2 separate regions of the Homo sapiens genome follow, and region 2 is linked to region 1. Evidence: promoter capture Hi-C in human tissues and cell types (Jung and others, 2019). All regions are on one chromosome and are shown on one strand. The core of a region is centred on a gene start or on the middle of the fragment in contact, and the rest is flanking DNA. Distances in the headings are between cores, read along the strand shown.

Region 1 (3,653 bases), core at 682-3,181:
GTAGTTTTAATAGGGACGGGGTTTCACCATGTTGGCCAAGCTGGTCTCAAACTCCTGATCTCAGGTTATCTGCCCGCCTCGACCTCCCAAAGTGCTGGGATTACCAGCGTGAGCGATCGCACCAGGCCTAATCAAATCTTTATTTACAAAAAGAGGCAACTGGCAGGACTGGGCCTGCAGGCTTTAAAATCTGTCAATCCCTGAAATAAAGAATAAAACAAAATTATTTTCATTTTAGGAAACAAAATGTGATTTATACTAAAAAAAAAAAGTGCACCAGCTAAATTGATACTATTGATAGAAAAAACCATTTATTTATAAATTCATACAAGGAGCCTAGGGATAGAAAAAAAAAACAAACTCTCTTTTAGGCTCTGGAAATCCTACTCCCATTCCTAGTGTCAAGTGAAAAGAGGAAATCTGCTAAGCAGACCAAAGTCTAGATAGGAACGTATACTGGAGGACAGACAGTTACAATCAGAAGTTAAAAGAAATATGCCTTTCACATTTAATTTGCAATTTTTTCAAATTTCATAATTCACCAACAAGCAGCTGCCACATGTGTGGAAATCTTTACTGATGAAATAATTTTAGTTGCAGATCATCACAATCAACACTCTGACAACAAATTTATCAGAACGGATGAAAACATCTAGGAATTACCTAAGAGTCGTTTAAGGAGACATAAGGGTGGCCTTTGATAAGAGGTCACTTCAAACTTTCAGAACTGACAAGACGTATAGCCTCCCCCCAAAAAATAATGCTATGGGTAGATGGATGCTTTTTTCTGAAGGAATTTTTAGCATTTCATTTGGAAAAGTTCTGTGATCAAATAATGCTAAATGTTATGACAGCTTTCTTGGCGTTTAAAGGGATTCTCTGGGTGAGGGGAAGGGGTGATAAAAAAAAAAAAAGTCTGCTTTTGGAACAGAAATGGGGGACAATAACCAAGGCTCAGAAACCCAGAGTCAAAAAATTAAAAGAACATCTTATTTTAAAAAAAAAGTCAACAACCTGCAATGAAGTCACCGTACCCCCATAAAATCCCAACTGTGCATTTAAATCTTTCTACCAAAATTCACTTTTGGACCATCTTATGAAGTTGTCAAAATTTCAGAGGCAAACGCTTAAATCAAGATCAAAAGCCAGGAGGAAAAAAGAGCTAACAGTTTCCAACCCAAACTCTCTCCGAGCCCCCTAAAAACTGATTTATAACCCTGTCATCGGTAATTTTAGAAGAAGCGAACACTGACGGACGGGGGCTTGGGAAAACAGGACTCCAGGTACCAAGCAGGCTGCCTGACGCGCCACCTGAAAAAGGTGAGGGAACTCTTCCCCACCCCAGTCACTGTGAAAGTAGCGCTGAGAGAGCCCATCCCAAGCCTCCACCAAACAAATTCCTAGAAGTGATAAAAACAGACAAGAGACGAAGAGGGGCGGGCAGATCCTCTCCGCGGGCAGGGAGCTGGAGCAACTGCACCCGAAGGTGAGCAGAGGGCAGCAGGCTCCGACCCTCCGCCGCGAAAGGCGAGGCGAGGGGAACAGCGGGCGCCGGACTCCTCCGACAGCGGTCGCAAGGAGGGCGGCTCCAGGTCCCCACACGGCCGACCCTCAGGCCAAGGCGCGCCGGGCGGCAGGTCAGAGTTAGGAATCAAGTTGCGGGCCGGGCCGAGAGCGCGCTCTCCCGCCCGCGCCAGGGACATTCGCCCCTCAGCTCTCACCTCCCCCCGACCCCAAGCTCTCCCTCTGCGCCCAGGAAACGGCGCCCACACTCCAGAGACCCTCACCCGGAGCCCGTCGCCGCCTCACCGCGTGTCTCGGACTTCTTGGGAGCCACCGCTGAGGGGAGGGGGGAGGAGGGGGGAACGGAGGAGGGAGGGGGCCAAGCCCGGTGTAGCCGCCGCCGCTGCCGCCGCCGCGATGCCGCTTCTGGAATCGCGCTCTCGCCGCCGCGACAGCGACCGCCGCCGCCGCGTCTCCCCGCCCCCACGACCGCACGTCGCCGTGACGCGCATCGCACGAGGCGGTTCGAGCCAATAAGACCACACGCCGTGCGCAGCCGCGCTGTCCTAAACCGGAAGCCGCCCCTCTGACCGCTCTAAAACCTGGGTGCATCGTGGGAGCTGTGGTTCGGCCAGGAACTTAGCGAAAACTATACTGGGTGTTGAGGGCCGGAGGAGCGTGCGCTCCTTAGGCGCTCACACAACTCCTCGGAGTTTTTTCTCCCACCGAAAAAGGAAGCAATTTGGAGCTGAGGAGGAGGGGGCCGCCCCGGCTCGCGGATGCTTTTCGCAGTCTCTATGGATACTGGCTACACACTTTGGGCAAGAGCCAGAATTTGAGGATTTAGGCTGGATCGTGTGTCTCTGCCAAGGGCTGATAGGATGCTGAGCGTCGTCTGTGAAGACTGCGGAAAGAAATCCAAAAGCATTAGCCCAGTTTTGCCCAGAGCAATAGTGTTTGCCTTTTATTACCTTATTAAAGATTATGATTTATGCTCTACCACTTCTATTTTTTTTAAAACCCAGTCACTCTTAAAATACATATAATTCAGAGCGATTTTTAAAATGATGTTAATGTAATGGTATATCAGAACCTACTTAAGCACTAAATACCTGCGTCCATTTACCCAGAATGAGTAAGTAATTTTCCACAAGTCATCTTTACGTTGAGTTCTAACTTCTTAGAAGCCAAGAACAGATTTGGTTACGTACTTATTCTATAAGAAAAGTGAATATAAGAGTTAGTCTGCGTAGAAAAATAGTTCTTTACATTCAGTAGGAGGGGGAATTTATCACATTCTTAAGGCGTAAATGCCTTAACTATCAAAATTCTTGTTATTGACTAAAGGAAATCCATACGATTTAGGGAAAGTCTGTGCCCACGGCTTACTGTCCTTACCTTTGGACCACAGCAAGAGATAACAAAGGGTGCAGGGAAAAGCTGACAGGTCTTGAGGGAGCTGGAGTCGGATATATGACGAAAAAAACAAAAATACAGAAGTCTTCATTATGGAAATGTAAGTTTTAAAAAGTAAAGCTACTAAAATCACAAAGAACATGATTAAGATGGCAATAATACAGAACTAAGGCCCACTCATTTAAGCTTGAAAGAGATAAAACTAGTAGAAATTAAAATTAGGAAATAAATGTTAAAGGAACTAATTTCCTCCAAGGAGTGGTTTACATTGAAAATATAATTTTTTTAAGTTTACATAATTTGTGAAAGACATAATAATAATGACTTCTATGTTCCCAGGTAAAGATGTAAAGCTTTTGAGGTTGAAATCAAGGAAGACAATTGTACACCTCCTCAGCACATCAGAAACAATACAGGCATTTCTGGATTGTGAATTTGACCCGTTATACCAACTCACATAGAACAGAGATAAGAAGTATAAGATTCTTAGGCTTAATAAAGAGTCTACTAAAGGTGACAGAACTAGAGCGAAAAAGATAATTTTCTTAAAAAGAGATTCTTCAAAGATCTCCAATCTTTCCTGCATCCCTTTCTCTTAAAGACTGGTTTCCAGGCCAAGCGTGGTGGCTCACACCTGTAATCCTAGCACTTTGGGAGGCCGAGATGGGCAGATCACTTGAGGTCAGGAGTTCAAAACCAGCCTGGCCAACATGGCGAAACCCCGTCTCTACAAA
Region 2 (3,804 bases), core at 49-2,548, 290 kb before region 1:
GCAGCAGTGAGCCAAGATCGCGCCATTGCACTCCAGCCTGGGTGACAGAGTGAGACTCCGAAAGCACATGTCCACACAAAGACTTTTACACAAATGCTCAAAGCAGTTTTATTCATAATAGCAAAAAACTCTGGTAATAACCTGGATACCCATTAATAGTTACATAGATGAACAAATTTTGGTATATAATAATAGAACACTACTCAGCGATAAGAAGAAATGAACTACTGATATATTCAACAACATGAATTAATTTCAGAAACATGTTGAGCAAAGCAAGCCATCTACAAAAGAGGATATACTGTACGACCCCATTTATATGAAGTTTATATGAAGTTGAAGAACAGGCAAAACTAATCTAGGGTGATAGAAGTAAAAAATTGGTTGTCTCTGCTGGGGCTGGTGGTGGAAGTGGGGTGTGGTTGTTGACTGGAAAAGAGTGATAAAAATATTTTATATCTTGTTTTCAGTGTTGGTTACATAAGAGTGTTTTATTGCCAACTCACTGAGCAGAACACTTTAAGATCTGTGCATTTTCTTGTACATAAATGATTCTTCAATGTAAGAAAGTAGAAATAATTGAACCTTATAAAAGAAGTATTTAAATAAATGAAAATTTAAGGATAATTTTTTACCCTTCTTTATTTTCCTGACATTTATTAACCAGTGTTTCTGCTAACCCTGATCTCTGCTGTGTTGGTTAGAATATTACACTAACTCTTTATTACTTTGCGTCTTGGCTTTTTCAACCTGGAAATAAAGCAGTCCTTGTTCTAAAACACATCTTCAGTACTTTAAACCAACATAATACCAAAAGCTTGATGTCAACTGAAAGCCCCAAGTAATGTGAGGTAATAGAAATAGTTGAGTCTGCATTTCTAGTTTCCAGATCAGTGAGAAGGCTATGCCCCCTTTCTCTGGGTTGCGACATCTGCTTTCTCCCCATGGTCAGAGAAGCAAGATTTCTCTTTGCCAAAAATATGGAAACCGTATAACTTAATATTTTTCCTGAGTGGAAGGAATTAACCTTCCACTTCTCTCTTGAGAGTCAATTTTTTTAAATGTCAATTTCCTAGCAAAGAGGAGCCTTAGCATTATTCTGCAGTGCTTTCTCTAGAATGAAACATATAAAAACAATACAGTTTAAAAATATAATAGTAGATATTTTCTTGGTGGCTATTATAGAACATCTTATGAAGTATAAACTTGATTGTCTTCCAAAGCTCCAAAGTTAAAGTGTACCTGTATATACCCATAGTAAATAATAGCAGTAAGAAAGTCAAATTTAGAGAACAATGATGAGTCATAATTTGGAAACAATATTGCTCACTATACTTAGAATGCATTTTGTAAAACGTTTTCTCTGCCACTATGTTACCATTAATTAATTGGTTGCTAATTATCTAGGCTATTGAGAAGGCAGTGGTATGGATAATAAATTACAGGCCCCTTATGGGCAAAGACCATATCTTATATTTTACTTATATTCTGTGGTGCCAAATAAACACAGGAAATAAACAGATTTAGATAAGAAATAGACATGTACAGTGTACTTAACAAAATTCGCAAATCACTTATATTCTAGAATTGTTATATGTGTATATGTGTATCTGATGATTTTGTGTGGCATCTGGAACATCAGAATGCATAAGACAAAGCTTTGAAGATACGCTGCTTGGAGTGATCAAGCAGGAGTCACAAAGTTGTCGAGCTTTCCAAAATGTCTTCCTGTTTCCCACTTCATGGTAGAGACGGAGAATGACACCTCTCCAACGAAGGCAAACCAGTAGCCACAGCTGAACTGTGTGATTCACCCTCATCATGGCCGAGCATGCTAACAGATCTGTGCTTTTTAAGCTTTCTCCTAGGCTTCAGGCTACATGGAGGAATAAAAGCTCTTCCAACTTAACAAATTCTAAGACTTGGAGACTTTGTTACGTCTTTTCTTAACCTTGCAATCAGTTTAGGCAGTGATTACAAAAGCAATCTGGAAAGTTAAAAGTGAACTCTGTGTAAATTTATTACCAAGTAAATGAAAGACACATTATCTGCCCAGAGATAACTGAGGGTTGTTTTCCATTCTAGGATATTTATTGGCATATTGATAGTCGCAAATAGTAGTTCCTAATCTTCTGTGAGTCACAAACCCCTATGAGAATCTGAAGACTTTTCTTCTTCCCTTTTTTCCTTCATTTCTTCCTTCTTTACTTCCTACTTTCCTTCCTCCCCCTCCCTCCCTCCCTCTCCCCCTTTCCTCAAATATATTTGCTTGACTGCTGTGTGCCAGACATTGTTTTAGAGGGTCTATGCTTTGCACTTTTTCACCTCCCAAAATTTGCATATATACATGACATTTTGCATATAGTTTTAGGGATTTTATTGAACCCCTAAAGCTCTCTAGGGTCAAGAAACTAATATTTAAAGTAACTATATGGCTAAAAATACTTGACATTCTTACTAGGCAAAAACTTAGTATTTGCAGGAATAACAGAATACATTTCTCTTCGGGATCTGCCCAGGAAGACAAGACCTTAAAGTAGACTCATTCACATCATGAGCAGTGAGGAATGGGAGCCGAGGAATTTGACATTTCATATTTAGTCAGAATAGGTAACCTATACAGTCTTGAGGCTCTTTTACTGTATGTGAGAGGAGTGGTTGGTTGAATTAGAAACTTTCAAGGACTCCTTTTAAGCCTGCATTTAATGAGAAAGAAAGAAGAGCCACCAAAATTTAAAAATCATAATGTGGTCACTGAATCTTACTTTGTGTCTCTAAGTCTCCTTTGCCATTCCGACTGAAAAATTGATCTATTTATTATGCACCATTGCTTAGAGAGCTAACATGTTAATATATGATAAAGGGTTATACGTCTACTGTGACTTGAGTGATGAAACTTGTCACTGTGACCTTTAATCCAAAATGACTTTTTTGTTCTCTGTCAGTACTCCACTTAGGCTGAAAGGAAGGGATCTAAACTCTAAAGAAAACTATCCATCTAAAGAAAGGCTCTGAAAAATCTCAAGTAAAGCAGAATTTCACTCTTGAGCCTTGTGGTATCTCTGGATTTCGTATTTCTATTTTTCTGTGTGTTGAGTTGTGACACCAGATAGTTCCTTGAAACACACACATAAGCAGATACACAGTGTGAGTAAACAACCCTTCTCTTCACCCTGACCATCCAATTAACACAGTTTCTACTTCTCCATCATAACTGCCAGGGGACTCACGGAGAGAACCTTCATGTGAATATATACATTTCTTATGTAACTTAACAATCTGACATGCTGAGGTGAGGAAAAACCCATGTGGCAAAGTCATATATGGTGATTTACAGCTGCTACAAAGTAAAGTCACTTGTTTTATCCTAAACCATAAAGACTATTAAGGTTCTCAGCTTGACCAAGAAAACATAGTAATGCTATTCAGATTGATACGCTGCATCTGTGGCTTGGACATGCAGTGTATTTTATGTTTTGTGTTTAAGAGAGCCCAGTTTAGCATGGTGGAAGTCTAAATTCTTGGCAGAGAAAAGCTGGGTTCCAAAACATTTTCTTAAATGCTTAATAAGGAAAGCATCTTTTAGTTTCCCTACCCTTTATCTATAGTAAGTGGTCATTATGGCTATATAATGTGTATTCTTTTAGATTCTGTGTTTTATATTACTAATTTTTGTCCAAAAATCATTTAGTAAATAGTTTCAAATAATCAAGTTCTGGAATCAAAGTAAATTTACTGCTTAACCCACAGAAGGAAAAATTATGGGTTTTGAAGAAGGAAAACAATTTTGGCCAAGAACTTGTA

Evidence for each region. Contacts are between HindIII fragments. The study calls those that stand out against the background at their distance.
Region 2: a fragment that was not itself captured here is called in contact with the fragment with the promoter of ADIPOR2 in region 1 in 2 of the 25 tissues and cell types used here (aorta and heart left ventricle).

The regions. Positions count from the first base shown.
Region 1 is chr12:1,689,348-1,693,000 of GRCh38, reverse strand. It overlaps ADIPOR2 (adiponectin receptor 2), which reads right to left and starts at 1,931. Exons shown (of 8, transcript NM_024551.3): 1 at 1,810-1,931. RefSeq lists silencers at 1,629-1,718, 1,739-2,038 and enhancers at 1,537-2,115, 2,199-2,248, 2,269-2,428. The HindIII fragment of the contact is 10,259 bases long and covers 754-3,653 here.
Region 2 is chr12:1,975,288-1,979,091 of GRCh38, reverse strand. All of the region lies in intron 3 of DCP1B (decapping mRNA 1B), which reads left to right. It also overlaps a transcript of CACNA1C not described here. Among named protein-coding and RNA genes, the nearest start is that of DCP1B, 27 kb to the left of the region's middle. The HindIII fragment of the contact is 3,462 bases long and covers 1-3,029 here.